Linked DNA regions of Homo sapiens: region 1 is linked to region 2. Evidence: promoter capture Hi-C in human tissues and cell types (Jung and others, 2019). All regions are on one chromosome and are shown on one strand. The core of a region is centred on a gene start or on the middle of the fragment in contact, and the rest is flanking DNA. Distances in the headings are between cores, read along the strand shown. Region 1 has its middle 18 kb from the start of LINC01290. Region 2 holds the start of TNP2 (transition protein 2).

Region 1 (7,439 bases), core at 3,538-6,037, 760 kb after region 2:
TTTGCAAGCAAGTGGTAGGTGAGTGTCCCTGGCTCATGGGACATTTTTTTTTTTTTCGTAAGGAGATAAGGGGTAGATAAGTAGAATTAGCCCAGTGGGAAATGATTTCAAGCTGCGGATTGATGATTAGGGTAATTTGTGGGTAGTCCAGAGAATGCCCCATGATCCTAAAGAATTACCATCATGCGTTGTTGCGATAGTGGTCAGATGAGTTTGAATTGATCATTGGCTGTGATTAGGGAGTCTCCTGTGCTGACCCATGTCCTCCCTTCAGAGGCATCTGGAACATCAATCCTGCAGATTATTCAGCTCATTAGGAATTCCCCGTGGAAGCTCAATACTTTCCTGAATCTGAATAGTTAAACCTCTGTGTTGCAAAAATCAAATACCATCTGGCTTTTGTGTTGTCTTGGCTAAATCCAGTCAATCCCAGCTTCTTCAATGGCATTTATGATATTCTGTTCCCACAAATCCAGAGAATCATAACTGGGTTAGAAACAGTTTTATTTAATCTTGGGTGTAGAAAGATTGTTTTCATAGATCAGACAGCATTTACCTCCATCAGAGTAAGAAAAAAGAATGTCCAGGTGTGTCCTTGCCCCAGTGATCACAGCATCTGTTGATATGTTCCTTGATATCAGTATATAGATCAAACTTACTGTCATCTTTAAAGAAGTTTACTTCATTCAAGTGCGGTGGCTCATGCCTGTAAAACCAGCACTTTGGGAAGCTGAAGTGGATGGATCACTTGAGGTCAGGAGTTCGACACTAGCCTGGCCAACATGGTAAAACCCTGTCTCTACTGAAAAAGTACAAAAATTAGCCAGGCATGGTGGCATGTGCCTGTAGTCCCAGCTACTCAGGAGCCTGAGGCATGAGAATCGCTCGAACCTGGGAGGTGGCGGTTGCAGTGAGCCAAGATCGTGCCACTGCATTCCAGCCTGGGCGACAGAGTGAGACTCCATCTGAAAAAAATAAATAAATAACTTAATGGCATTGACAAATGGTTGCCCACCCCACAAACCACCCACATACCCTAGTATCAAAATTATGGGAAATTGTTTCTTTCAAAGAGACTTCAGAAAAATATTGTATCCTGGTATAGAATGGATGGTTATTTCATTGTTTATATGAAAGGGCCTTGCTTGTTGACCAGTATTTGTATTTTAATTAATTTTTGTCCTTTCCCACTATCTAAGTAGCAAATCTGTCATAACTCCTGTGGTTACTGTCTTTTTAGACTTTGCCTGTGTGTTTGGATGTTTGGATTCCAGTAGAGAGGGTTCTTCCCCCGACACAGTCCCACCACTCGTAGTTCAATTGCAGGAGAGGAAAAACTTCATTTATCCTGTTAGATTCTGTGACTGGAGTCTGTAAGTTAAACTGACAACAGGTAGATGAACAGGAGGAAAGACATACAAATTTTAATATTTTTACATGCATGGGGCTTCACATAAAAGGAGCAAAAATGCAAAGCAGTGGTTAGACTTGGGGGCTTATATACCATTTTCCTTTTTTTTTTTTTTGAGATGGAGTCTTACCCTGTCACCCAGGCTGGAGTGCAATGGCATGATCTTGGTTCACTGCAACCTCCGCCTTCTGGATTCAAGCAATTCTCCTGCCTCTGCCTCCCAAGTAGCTGGAACTACAGGCACAAGCCACCACGCCTGGCTAATTTTTTGTATTTTTAGTAGAGACTGAGTTTTACCATGTTGGCCAGGCTGGTCTCGAACTCCTGACCTCAGGTGATCTGCCTGCCTTGGCCTCCCAAAGTGCTGGGATTAGAGGCATGAGCCACTGTGCATGATCAAAAAAAGCAATTTTTAAAAAAAAATTACCCAGGAGTGGTGGTGTGTGCCTGTAGTTGCAGATACTCAGGAGGCTGAAGTGGGGGGATCTCTTGAGCCCAAGAGTTGGAGGCTGCAGTGAGCCATGATTGTGTCACTGCACTCTAGCCTAGGTGACAGAGAATCTGAGAAAGAGAGAGGGAGGGAGGGAGAGTTTGGGTTCCTAGGGCTGGTAAGTTGTGGAAAGATGACTAGGAAGTGGTGGGTAAGGGTTGTTTAGTAATGTTTGTCATGCCAACTCATCTCTGTGCCAGTCACCCTGCCTTGGTATAGAGAAACATCTTTACATGGGGAATTTCCCTGCTTTTAGGCAGAAAGGGAGTGGGTAGAGAGCTCTTTTTGTCTGCAGTTTCTCAGTTGCCCTCAGCTCAAAATAATCCTTATGCCGAAGTGGCCTCTTCTGGGGTAATGTATTCTGATCCCCTTCAACACCAATAGAAAATCAAGGTAGATACACACCCCTCCTCCCAAAGTCTCAAGAGGGTGAAAGGCAGGAACTGCAAGGATTATATTTGTCTTCCTTATACGGCTCTTTCTCTGTCTCTTTTTTTTTTTGAGATGGACTCTTGCTGTATCGCCTAGGCTGGAGTGCTCACTGCAACCTCTGCCTCCTAGGTTCAAGTAATTCTCCTGCCTCAGGCTCCTTACAGGCAACCGCCAGCACACCCAGCTAATTTTTGAATTTTTAGTAGAGACAGGGTTTCACCATGTTGGCCAGGCTGGTCTCACACTCCTGACCTCAAATGATCCACCCGCCTCCACCTCCCAAAGTGTTGGGATTACAGGCATGAGCCACCGCACCCGTCCTCTTTTTTCTCTCTACGTTCAGTTCAGTTCTTCCAGTCTGTCATCCTGGATTTGTGGTCATGGGTAATATGTAAGATCGTTAGTCTGTCTCTGCTTTTGCAACCTTGACTGCCATCTGACAATTCAGGATAAGGCCTCTCTGCTTTCATGATGCTGGGCACATCTGATTGAGGTAAGAGCTCTTGACGGGATTGATGGAGGGCTTTGCAGCTTCGTTATTGATGGGTAAAATGTCTCCCAGCAAATGTGGGTGTCTAAGAGTATGCAGGGGAACCCACCTCCATGGCATGTGGGGTGAGGGCCTGGTATCATTTCTTTGAACAAACCATGGCTCCCAGTGGAGAGGGAATGTATTAGTCAGGCTAGGGCTGCTATAACAAATTACTATAAATGGCCAAGCGTGGTGGCTCATGCCTGTAATCCCAGCACTTTGGGAGGCTGAGGTGGGTGGTTGACTTGAGGTCAGGAATTCGAGACCAGCCTGGCCAACATGGCAAAACCCCGCCTCTACTAAAAATACAAAAATTAGCCAAGCATGGTGGCACACACCTGTAATTTCAGTTACTCGGGAGGCTGAGGCAGGAGAATCACTTGAACCCGGGAGGCAGAGGTTGGAGTGAGCCGAGATCGCACCACTGTACTCTAGCCTGGGCAACAGAGTGAGACTCTATCTCAAAAAAAAAAAAAAATACTATAAACTTGGTGACTTAACACAACAGAAATTATTTTTCTTGCCATTCTGGAGGCTGAAGTGTCCACAGGACTATGCCCCCTCTGGAGGCCCTCATGGAGAACTCATCCTTGCTTCTTCTAGCTCCTGGTGGCTCCAGGCATTCCCTGGCTTTTGGCTGCATTGTTCCAATCTCCACCTCTGTCTTCACATTGCATTTCTTCTCTCTCTCATCTCTGTGTGTCTCTTATCAGGACACTTGTCATTTAATTTGGGCTGAGATCATCCAAGATGATCTCATCTGGAGATTCTTAATCACATCTGCGAAGATCCCCTCCCCTCCCCTTCCTCCCCTTCCCTCCCTTCCCCTCTCCTTCCCTCCCCTCCCCTCCCCTCTTCTTTTTTAAGACAGAGTCTCACTCTGTCGCCCAGGCTGGAGTACAGTGTGGTATGATCATAGCTCATGGAGCCTCAATCTCCTGGACTTAGGTGATCCTCCCAACTCAGCCTCCTGAGTAGCTGGGACTACAGGTGTGGGCCACCATGCCTGGCTAATTTTTATTTTTTTTTTAGAAATGGAGTCTCGCTATATTGCTGGTCTCAAACTCCTGGGCACAAGCAATCCTCCTGCCTTGGCCTCCCAAAATGCTGTGATTACAGCAGGCATGAGCCACCGTGCCTGGCCGATCCTTTTTTCCAAATAAGGTCACATTCACAGATTCTAGGATGAAGACATCTCTTGGGGTGGGGGACCCAGTTCAACCAGCTGCACACGGGATGTAGATAAATGCTGGAAGGGCCCAGAGGACGCCTCTTGATGATGGAGTAGGGTTTCTCTTTCTTCATTAGCAAGGGAACTACACATATTTGTAGAGCAGTGCCCCTTAAAAATCATCGTTTATATTTTCAGTTCCTGTCTCAGCAACCAGATGAAGTATTGAGTGGAGTCCCTTCCATCCACATTAATCTGTTGATGGGAGTGGTGTGTTCCTTCAACATTACCACCAGGTGGCAGCCAAGAACTTAGAGTCAGGCGGGCTCATGCTTGCTGCCTGACCCAAGTACATGGTCTTAGCTCCTGAATTGAGATCCAAGTTTGCAAATAACGACAGAGGATGCCAAATCACCTTTGCTCTGGCCTATTCAGTAACATGTCACTTAATAGGGAGAATTACCGGATCAGTCCACCAGCCAGCCTAGTGTGGCAATAACTTACCCCAACTGTTTAAGCATTTACATAGCACTACCTGTTTTTTGTTTGTTTGTTTGTTTTATTTTTGAGAGGGAGTTACGCTCTTGTTACCACGGCTGGAGTGCAATGGTGCGATCTCGGCTCACTGCAACCTCCACCTCCTGGGTTCAAGTGATTCTCCTGCCTCAGCCTCCGGAGTAGCTGGGATTACAGGTATGTGCCACCACGCCCAGGTAATTTTGCATTTTTTAGTAGAGATGGGGTTTCTCCATGTTGGTCAGGCTGGTCTCGAACTCCCAATCTCAGGTGATCCACCCACTTCGGCCTCCCAAAGTGCTGGGATTACAGGCATGAGCCACCGTGCCCGGCATACACACCTGTTAATTTTGCCTGTTTTGCATTTCTTTCCTTACTTTGGGGTAGTTGGGAATGTTAATCACTTTAGCCCCTTCCCTAGCACAATTATTGTTTCAAAGATTGGCATATTAAGTCATTCCAGTGGGAGCATCACAAAGAAAATCTGATATTCTTTTCTTTCTGTGAATCAACCTGTATCTTTCCTGCAAGTTATTCCCCCGACACACTTGCTTGCTGTCACAGGACCTTCACTGATGGGATCTGCATTTTGTTAACAGTTTAAGGTGGTCAACTCTAGCACAGGCCAGGCCAAAAGTCAAAAATTCTTCATTACTGAATGAATATCCTAGGTAGATTATACAAGGATGTCCTTATACTACCAAAGAATGTTCTTTTATAATATAAAAGGATGTCCTTATTCAGATGTCCCTAGACCAATTACTTTAACTTTTGGAATGTCCAAATACAGCCAAAATCGACCCCTGAATTGTTTCTAAAACTGAGATCTTTTATTAAAATAGCAAAAGGAAGAAGTGATAGGTTCCATGAGGCCTATAGTTACAGAGATTTATTATTGAATTTGTTCAAAACATTTTTGTGTTTTAAATATTTCCCAGATGATTCTGATATGTGACCAGGGTTGAGGACCAGCATTTCTCTATGAGAGCTAGATCAGGTGTGAATTTCAGAATTAGAGGTGATTAATTTGACTGTTATCTCTTTCTCTCTCTACTTTTTGTGCCTGGAATACTTAGTTAAAACTTATTAAGCACGGTGGCTCACACCTGTAATCCCAGCACTCAGGGGAGGCGGAGGCAAGCAGATCACTTGAGGTCAGGAGTTCAAGAGGAGCCTGGACAACATGGTGAAACCCCGACTCCACTAAAAAAATACAAAAATTAGCCAGGTTTGGTGGTGTGTGTGCCTGTAGTCCCAGCTACTCGGGAGGCTAAGGCAGGATCACCTGAACCTGGGAGGCGGAGATTGCAGTGAGCCGAGATCGCACCACTGCACTCCAGCCTGGGTGACAGACTGAGACTCCATCTTAAAAAATAAATTAATTAAATAAAACCAATTAATCTCAGGAGACCTGATTCTCTCTTGCTGAGATGGGTAGAGAGAAATCCTTTGGCAACTAAACCTGTTACTCTAGCATTGTCTCTGTTTTCCAAAAATCCTGCTTAAGCTTTACTTATCTGTATTTAATGTGAACCTATCCCCCCTTATTGTTCTTCTGTGCCACCTCATCTTAAAGTCTATACATTGATAGGTTCTGCATTGAGTTCTTGCACTTCTCTAAGGAAAGAGAGCAAGAGAATTGTGGAAGTTTGGAAGAAGTGAGGGTAAAGAGACTGGATATCTTTCCAAGTTAAAGCAGTTTGGAGCCAAGGCTGATGGTAAAGAGAATATTGCAGAATTTGTTAAATATCCATTAATGAGTAGAATCTGGCAATTCCTGGAACCATAGTTCGAGATTGAGGGTGGAATAAAGATATATCAGATACACCCACAATCAGAGAATTTAACACCTATAGCCCCTCATTGAAAGAAAAAGTGTGGGATGCAAGAAAAATGGTGAATACAGAAATATGATAAAAATGCCAGTAAATTAAACAATTATTGACTGGAAACAGCCGTAATGAGCTCTTTTTGCTTTTAAAAGATGGGTCTAAACTTATTGATAAAAATAACAAATAGGCTGGGTGCAGTGGCTCACACCTGTAATCCCAGCACTTTGGGAGGCTGAGGCGGGTGGATTACCTGAGGTCAAGAGTTCGAGACCAGCCTGACCAACATGGTAAAATCCCGTCTCTACTAAATACAAAAAATTAGCTGGGCATGGTGACACATGCCTGTAATCCAAGCTGTGCAGGAGGCTGAGGCAGGAGAATTGCTTGAACCCGGGAGGCAGAGGTTGCAGTGAGCCAAGATTGCACCACTGCACTCCAGCCTGGGCAACAAGAGCGGAAAACTCTGTCTCAATCAATCAATCAGGCAGTAGGTGTTTATCTGGGGTAGGCAACCTGTAGTTAAGGCATTTTCTTGTAAGATCCTTTTCTTGATTGGAAGGATGTCAGAGATATGGATTAGACTTTGTTGGGAAAAAAGGTTTTGAATGTATGTTGATATTAAAACATTATGAATAAAATGACATATCACAGATCTGCATCATAATAATTCAGTGCCTGATGGGAGCTGAGAAGGTATACAGGGTTTAGATGACACAAGGTTGACACGAGTTGAAAATTGTTGGCCGGGCATGGTGGCTCACGCCTGTAATCCCAGCACTTTGGGAGACCGAGGCGGGCGGATCACCTGAGGTCGGGAGTTCGAGACCAGCCTGACCAACATGGAGAGACCCCGTCTCTACTAAAAAATACAAAATTAGCCGGGCATGGAGGCACATGCCTGTAATCCCAGCTACTCCAGAGGCTGAAGCAGGAGAATCGCTTGAACCTGGGAGGCAGAGGTTGCAGTGAGCCAAGCTCGCACCACTGCACTCCAGCCTGGGTGACAGAGGAAGACTCTGTCTCGAAAAAAAAAAAAAAAAAAGTAATGTATGTTG
Region 2 (6,930 bases), core at 4,116-6,615:
TCGCTCTTGTCACTGGGGCGGTGTGCAGTGGTGCGATCTTGGCTCACTGCAACCTGCACCTCCTATGTTCAACTGATTCTCCTCCCTAACCTCCTGAGTAGCTGAAGGAGCTAAACAAATTTTTTTTTTTTTTTTTTTTTGGTATTTTTAGTAAAGACATGGTTTCACGATGTTGGCCAGGCTGGTCTCGAACTTCTGACCTCAGATGATCTGCCTGCCTCGCCTCCCAAAGTGCTGGGATTACAGGTGTGAGCCACCACGCCTGGCCTCAAAAAATTTATATTTAAAAAATACCATTGCAGTGTACAAACGACTCATTTCAATGTATAAAAGACAAAGTCCTAAACCCCCTCCCCCCATGCTGAAATTGTGCTGCACAGATGTGGAACCTTGCCAAGGGGCAGCTCCATGATGTCTTCTCTGTGGCCCCAAAACACTTAAGAGGATGTCACTCCACCCTGACCTGGGTAGAGTGGCCTCTGGTTGGTGGTGTCCATCTTGCATCAGTCAGGGACAAAGCAACCCCTTGTTCATCCCAGCTTGGTTTCTGGCCTGTTCCCATGCCTTGGACAAACAAACAATGCTTAGGAGCCATTGCCTTTCAAGAAGATTTCACACTTTCAGGCCCCCGAAGGAAGACTTCCAAGGGTTCCTGAGTTTTATGAGCTTACAGAGTGCATACATTTTAAGCACACAGCTTGATGATTTATTTCCAAGGGTTAACAGTCAAGAAACTCAACAGAGACAGCTCTCTCTGGCTGGCGATTTCTGGGATGTGGGGAGGAGTCTGTGTGTGCCCCTCCTGCTTCTAGAAATTCAATCCCTAACTCCCATCCCAGCTACAAGGGAAACTTTCTCCAGGGCAAATGAGGACTATGGTGTGGCATCCGAACTGGCCCCAGTGCTCAGCCTTGCAGACCTCCCCTGTGGGGGCTGGGAGCTGCCAGTGGCTGAGGTGTGAGTTAACTGTTGGCTCAGACCCAGGTTCCCAAGTGGGGATGGGCTCCCTTTGTGATGTCAGCATCCTGCCCCCACTCGCAGCCCCTTCACCCACCGCCTCACCTCCTTGCCCAGAGAGACAGGCAACGTAGACCATGGGTTCCCGCTGTGCCAAGCTCAACACAGGCCAGAGCCCAGGCCACAGCCCAGGCCACAGCACGGGCCATGGCCGGGGCCACGAATCCTCCATGAAAAAGCTCATGGCCTGTGTGAGTCAGGATAACTTCTCCTTGTCATCAGCGGGCGAGGAAGAGGAGGAAGAGGAGGAGGAGGGGGAAGAGGAGGAGAAAGAAGAGCTGCCGGTGCAGGGCAAGCTGCTGCTGCTGGAGCCTGAGCGGCAGGAGGAGGGCCACAAGGACAACGCCGAGGCCCAGCAGAGCCCCGAGCCCAAGCGGACACCCTCCTGACCCGCAACGAAGGCCCAGGAAGGGACGCCCACTGCTGCTCCGGCGACAGTGTTCAGAGAAGAGTCAATAAAAAGTCTCTGAGGAATCCTCCCTGTCTCTGGTTCCCCTCACCCTATCCCTTCTGGCCCCACGTGTGCACGTGTGTGAAGGCGTGTGTGTGTGGGTGCACACGGAGGGAGGCCAGCTGCCAAGGAAGGCTGAACAGCAAGGCTCGGTGACCTTGTTCCCAAGCCCCAGCCAGAGGTTGAGGGGCTTTGAGAGGGGGAAATCATCTCCGCCAAATCTTCCCATCTCTGGGACGGGAAATTCCTCTGCGAGTCCCAGCACACCCCAGCCGAGAGCATCCAGCGGGACAGGGTAACTGCCTTCATCGCAGTCCCCACTGTGCTGCCCCAACTATGGACCGTCTTTTAAGAACACTGGCTTGGGAGTTCAGCAGACCTGGGTTCAAACTTCTTTTCTGGTAGCTGCGTGCCCTTGAGCAAGTCACTGCGTGTCTTTGAGCCTCAGGCTGCCCCTCCCAGCGTTTAGGGGAAGCTAATAGCTACTCATGGGTCAGATGATCAGAAAAATTAGCTCAAGTGATGGGTGGGACCAGGCCTGGCACCAGTCAGTGCTGAGCTAGGACAGGGATTGTTGCTGGGGTCATGGTGGTTCCTCTAGGTCCTTCTTGGCTGCAGACTCTTCCACTGCCAGTCTATGCTGCTGGCAACCACCTGCACCCCTACCTGGAAGCTCACTCCCGCCTTCTTCAAGGGGTCTAGCCCTGGGGGCGGAGACAGTACCCCATGAGAGCAGTAGGCAAAAGAGGCCCAGGGAGGCGACTGGGTACAGACACAGAACCTAGGCCCCATCCTCTCGCTCTGGGCTCGGTGCGCCTTCCGCAAGGAGCTTCGGAGTGCGTCTGCTGCCCACCCTACTGCCGGCTCCTCCCTCACTCCTTCCATCCCAAAGAAGCCACAAATGCGATCTCCACCACATTCCCTCACAGTCCTCCAAGCACCAGCCACCTTGAGCTAATTCTCTGGATCAGCTGATCCCCTGTTCCCGAGGGGATCCTAGTTGGTACCGTGGCAGTGGGGCTGGGGGATGGGGAATTTTCAGGGAAGCCTCGGTTTCTCTGGGGGCCATGTTTGACGTAGGAAGGAGCCTTGGGCTACCCTGTGGGGAGGCCACGGCTCTGCCCGGCAATGGCCTAGGGCAAGGGAGGCCCTGTTATCCCACTACTCCCAGACCCACAAATGACTCGGTTGGTCAGCCTTGTCCTTTTGTCCAAGGCCCAAAGGTCCACCCACCCATTCATTTGCCCAGGAAACATGAGCTGAGTCCCTGTTGTATGCCCCACATGGTGCTAGTCACAAGGAGCCCTGGTAATAAAACATAGTCCCCGCTGTCCTGGGAGAGAGTTCACTGTCATGGGTGCGGGGGCAGGTACGTGACGTGCCGCACACCCGCTGCTGGGAGAGGTCAGCCCTCCCTGGGAGGACTGGAAAGGTGTGTGGAGGAGAGGCTGGTTGATGGCAGGCCACGATCTCCATTCCAGGCTATGTGCTTCAGGATGGGAAAGTGGGGCGTTGGCAGTGGAGGAGCAGGAGACCATGGGAAGGGGGGTCCAGAGACCCAGAGAGTCTTCACGGCTTGGTCTAGCATATACCCCACAACCGGACCTGCTGAGGCCACCCAAGGCAGGGCCCTGAGAACCCTGCTGCAGCTGTCCCTCTAATCGCCGAGAATCCCTTAGTGACCTCGAGAGGAGGCCAGACCTGAATATGACTGGCTCTGCCGTGATCGGCTAAGGGACTCTGGGCTGGTTACTCCACCTCTCTGAGCCTGTTCCCTCTTTGCTAAATGTAATCATAGTATCTGCCTCATGGGGTGCATAAGTTTCTTGGGGCTGCCATACCAAATGACCACAAACTTGGTGGCTAAAACAACAGAAATGTATTCTCTGCAGTTCTGGAGGCCAGAAGTCTGAAGTCGAGGTGCCAGCTGGGCTGATCTCCCTCCGGAGGCCTTAGCAGAGAATCCTTCCTTGCCTCCTCTAGCTCATACAACTCCAAGCTCGTCTCCATCTTCCCATGGTTTCCTCTTCTCCCTGGGTGACACCTCTTCTGTCTCTCATAAAGACATTTATCATTGGATTTAGGGCCCACCAGCTAAGCCAACATGCTTATCTCAAGATTCTTAGCTTAATTACATCTGCAAAGACCCCTTTTCCAAATATCACATTGACAAGTTCTAGGAGTTATAACGTGGACATAGATTTTTGGGGGTTGCCATTCATTCCACTACAAAGGGTCACTGTGAGGTTTGAGGGCAAAGCTGCCTGGAGAGGGTAAGGTCCAGAGCCCAGCCACATAGAAAGCATTCAGTAAATGAAAGCAGTTCTCACTGTAAGAAATTTGAAATGTTTATTAAGAAATAAACTGCAAAGGCTGGGCATATTGGCTCATGCCTGTAGTGCCAGCACTTTGGGAGGCCAAAGCAGGAGAAAACCTTGAGCTCATGAGTTCAAGACCCACCTAAGCAACAAAGTGAGACCCCATCTCTACAAAAATAAAAATAAAAAAATTAGACAGGTGTGGTGGCATGCACCTGTAGTCACAGCTACTTGGGAGGCTGAGGTGGGAGGATCGTTTGAGTCCAGGAGGTGGAGGCTGCAGTGAGCTGTAATTGTGCCACTGCACTCTAGCCTAGGCAACACAGCAAAACCCTTTCTCAAAAGAAAAAGAAAAAGAAAAAAACTTCCATAAAAGCAGACGATTGCAAATCCTCATAGCAAGAGGCAAAGTTGCACATGGGCAGAGTGAGAGGTTGGCTTGGGCCGGAGGCCTGCTCGGGGAGGACAGACAGAGACAGAGGAAGTTCCATGCAGAGAGAAGTGGGAAAGTACAGGGCCAAGGGCTAAGCCCAAAGGCATCGGCCAAGACAGGGAGGGGTGGAGGGCTCTGGATGGAAACCCAAAGACTAGAAGATCAAATGGCTTAGTGTTCAAACATAAGTCTGGGCTTTCTTCTAGAGGTACTGGGGTATCTGAGCAGGGACGGCGTGATTCAAACGGTATGGCGAGGCTTCGTTAGCAGGAAGGGGAGGAGAATCAAGAGGCAGAAACTGAAGGAGAGAGACGGGTTTCCAAGGGCCTCCTGTAGCTTGACAGGCATCTCAGGCTCACGAGAATACCAGGAAAGAAGGAAAGACACCCCTTTGTCACATACGGCAATTAAGCCTCAGAAACCACAATGGCCTACCCAAGACTGGACATCAGTGCAAACTGGGATTTGAACCCGGCTCTGAATTTCCCGACTTTAGATCTGGCTGGGGAGGTAGGCTTGCCAAGCGAGCCCCAGGACCACCCCTTGGTCCATGTGGTTACTCATCTTTCATCCATCCACCAAGCCATCTGACCAATTCATCACCTCCCCATCATCTGGGCACTAATCATCTGTCTTAACAACTGCCCACCATTCAGCTGCCATCACCAGGGTCAGGGCTGCACTCCTGGTACCCAAGTTGCCCAGGGCGTTAAGAAAAACACCTGATGATGCTGGTCAGTGATGTTTACTGAGCTCTTATTGTGGGCTGGGCCTGAGCTAACTGCTTGATATAAATTCTCTCCTTTATTAATAATTCTTCTAATGTCCGAATGAGGTCAGTACAATTATTATCCCTATTCTGCAGAGATGGGGAAACTGGGACTTGTTCAGGCGAATTCCCAGGGCTGACCATGTGGAAAAAGCAGATCTGGGATGCAGACTCAGCTTAATCTGACCCAAGGGCTCCTACCCTGAACCAGTAGCTGGGACTATCCCCAGGGTACCCCTGAGAGCTGCCCCAGCCTGGGGGTGAGGGTAAGGGGTAGGGGGCTTTGTCTTGGCTGAGCCACATCTCTCACACCCCTGTGGCCTGGGCCATCATAATCAGCCCCAACTATATAACCAGGTGGGCTGCCAGGGCCTCTGTAAAGCTAGGCCTGCTGGGAGAGGATGAGGAGGAGGCCCTGCCCCTCCAAACGTGGCCTCCTATGGACACCCAGACTCACAGCCTTCCTATCACCCACACTCAGCTCCATAGCAACTCTCAGCCCCAAAGCCGCACCTGCACCCGCCATTGCCAAACCTTCAGCCAGAGTTGCAGACAGAGCCATCGTGGCAGCCGGAGCCAGAGCTCCAGCCAGAGCCCGGCCAGCCACCGCAACCCAACTGGAGCCCACAGCTCATCCGGCCACCAGAGCCAGAGTCCCAACACTAGTCCACCACCAAAGCGCCACAAAAAGACTATGAACTCCCACCACTCTCCCATGCGGCCCACCATCCTGCACTGCCGCTGCCCCAAGAACAGAAAGAACTTGGAAGGCAAGCTGAAAAAGAAAAAAATGGCCAAGAGGATCCAGCAGGTGTACAAAACCAAGACGCGGAGCTCAGGTACCCTTTAAGGAGGTGGGGAAGGGCCACCGAGCCCACAGATGATGGAGAGCAGACCTTGGGGGCAGTGAGAGGAAGGCTGCAGCCAGGTCACAAAGGAACCACAGGCAAGAAGGAAGAGGGAGAAGAGAAACAATGGCAGTTGGCTAGCTGAATGTATGATACATTGACGGAAAGTCTCTTTGAAATTGGATGGGTTGATTAGGAGGATGGAAAGATGGACAGATAGCAGATAAGCTAGATGAAAGCATGAATGGAGTTGAGAGGTTGGGTGGATGACTGGGTGGGTAAACAATAAATAGGTTATAGAAAGGATAGTTGGAAGAATGCATTGGCTGAATGATAGGAAGTTTGGATACGATTAGCTGGATGGATGGATAAATGGATGAATGCACTGGCTGGCTAGTTATTTGGTTGGTTAGGTAGATGATCAGTTTGAAGATTGTGGTTGGTGGATGAATTGGTTAGAAATAGAGTTAAATAGTTGTAGAAGTTTTGATGGGTTGGTTTGATTGGTTAAATATTATCTTAATAGAGTAATATAGAGTAATTGAATAAACAGAGAGAAGAATAGATATCTAGACTAATGGGATAGAATGGGAAAGAAATGTTGAATAAATGAATGGAATGAGTGAACTAATGAATGGGTGGATGACAAATGGAAGGGATAAATGGATGGATACCTGGATTCACATAGGTCAAAAGGACACTGACGGTAGTCTAAACTCTATCTATGTCCCATATTCAATCACAAATGAGTAGTTGTAAGACCTTACAGGAGGTCAAGGAGGTCACTGACTTCATGAAGTGCTCAGCTATTAAAGGTTCCTTTCCCACTCTTATCCCTTAGGATGGAAATCCAACTAATGAGACCGCACTCCTTGGCTTGTTCCTGCGTGTTTCACCCAAAGGAGAAAATGCTAGGATGAAGTCAATCTTCTTGCAGGAACATGTTACTATGGTGATTTCTACGCAACACTAATTAAAGCTTGTACCTGGAAGACTATCCCTGAGTAGTCATAGTCATTTTGATTTCACTAATAAAGGTGTTATGTGTTTTGGGGGCCTGCACAGGGGCAGAAATGAATGGGGGTAGGATGCCA

What was found. The method cuts DNA at HindIII sites, captures the fragments that hold promoters and counts their contacts. A contact is called where the count stands out against the background at its distance.
Region 1: a fragment that was not itself captured here is called in contact with the fragment with the promoter of TNP2 in region 2 in 1 of the 25 tissues and cell types used here (lymphoblastoid cells).

What each region holds. Positions count from the first base shown.
Region 1 is chr16:10,506,654-10,514,092 of GRCh38, reverse strand. No RefSeq gene overlaps it. Among named protein-coding and RNA genes, the nearest start is that of LINC01290, 18 kb to the left of the region's middle. RefSeq lists an enhancer at 4,185-4,274. The HindIII fragment of the contact is 4,790 bases long and covers 2,393-7,182 here.
Region 2 is chr16:11,267,760-11,274,689 of GRCh38, reverse strand. TNP2 (transition protein 2) reads left to right here and starts at 5,365. Exons shown (of 2, transcript NM_005425.5): 1 at 5,365-5,827; 2 at 6,678-6,833. The coding sequence starts at 5,428. The coding sequence ends at 6,694. All of the region lies in intron 1 of LOC105371082 (a long non-coding RNA gene), which reads right to left. PRM3 (protamine 3) reads left to right here and starts at 1,061. Exons shown (of 1, transcript NM_021247.3): 1 at 1,061-1,491. The coding sequence starts at 1,095. The coding sequence ends at 1,406. It also overlaps the pseudogene LOC124900380. RefSeq lists an enhancer at 1,980-2,676. The HindIII fragment of the contact is 5,287 bases long and covers 2,928-6,930 here.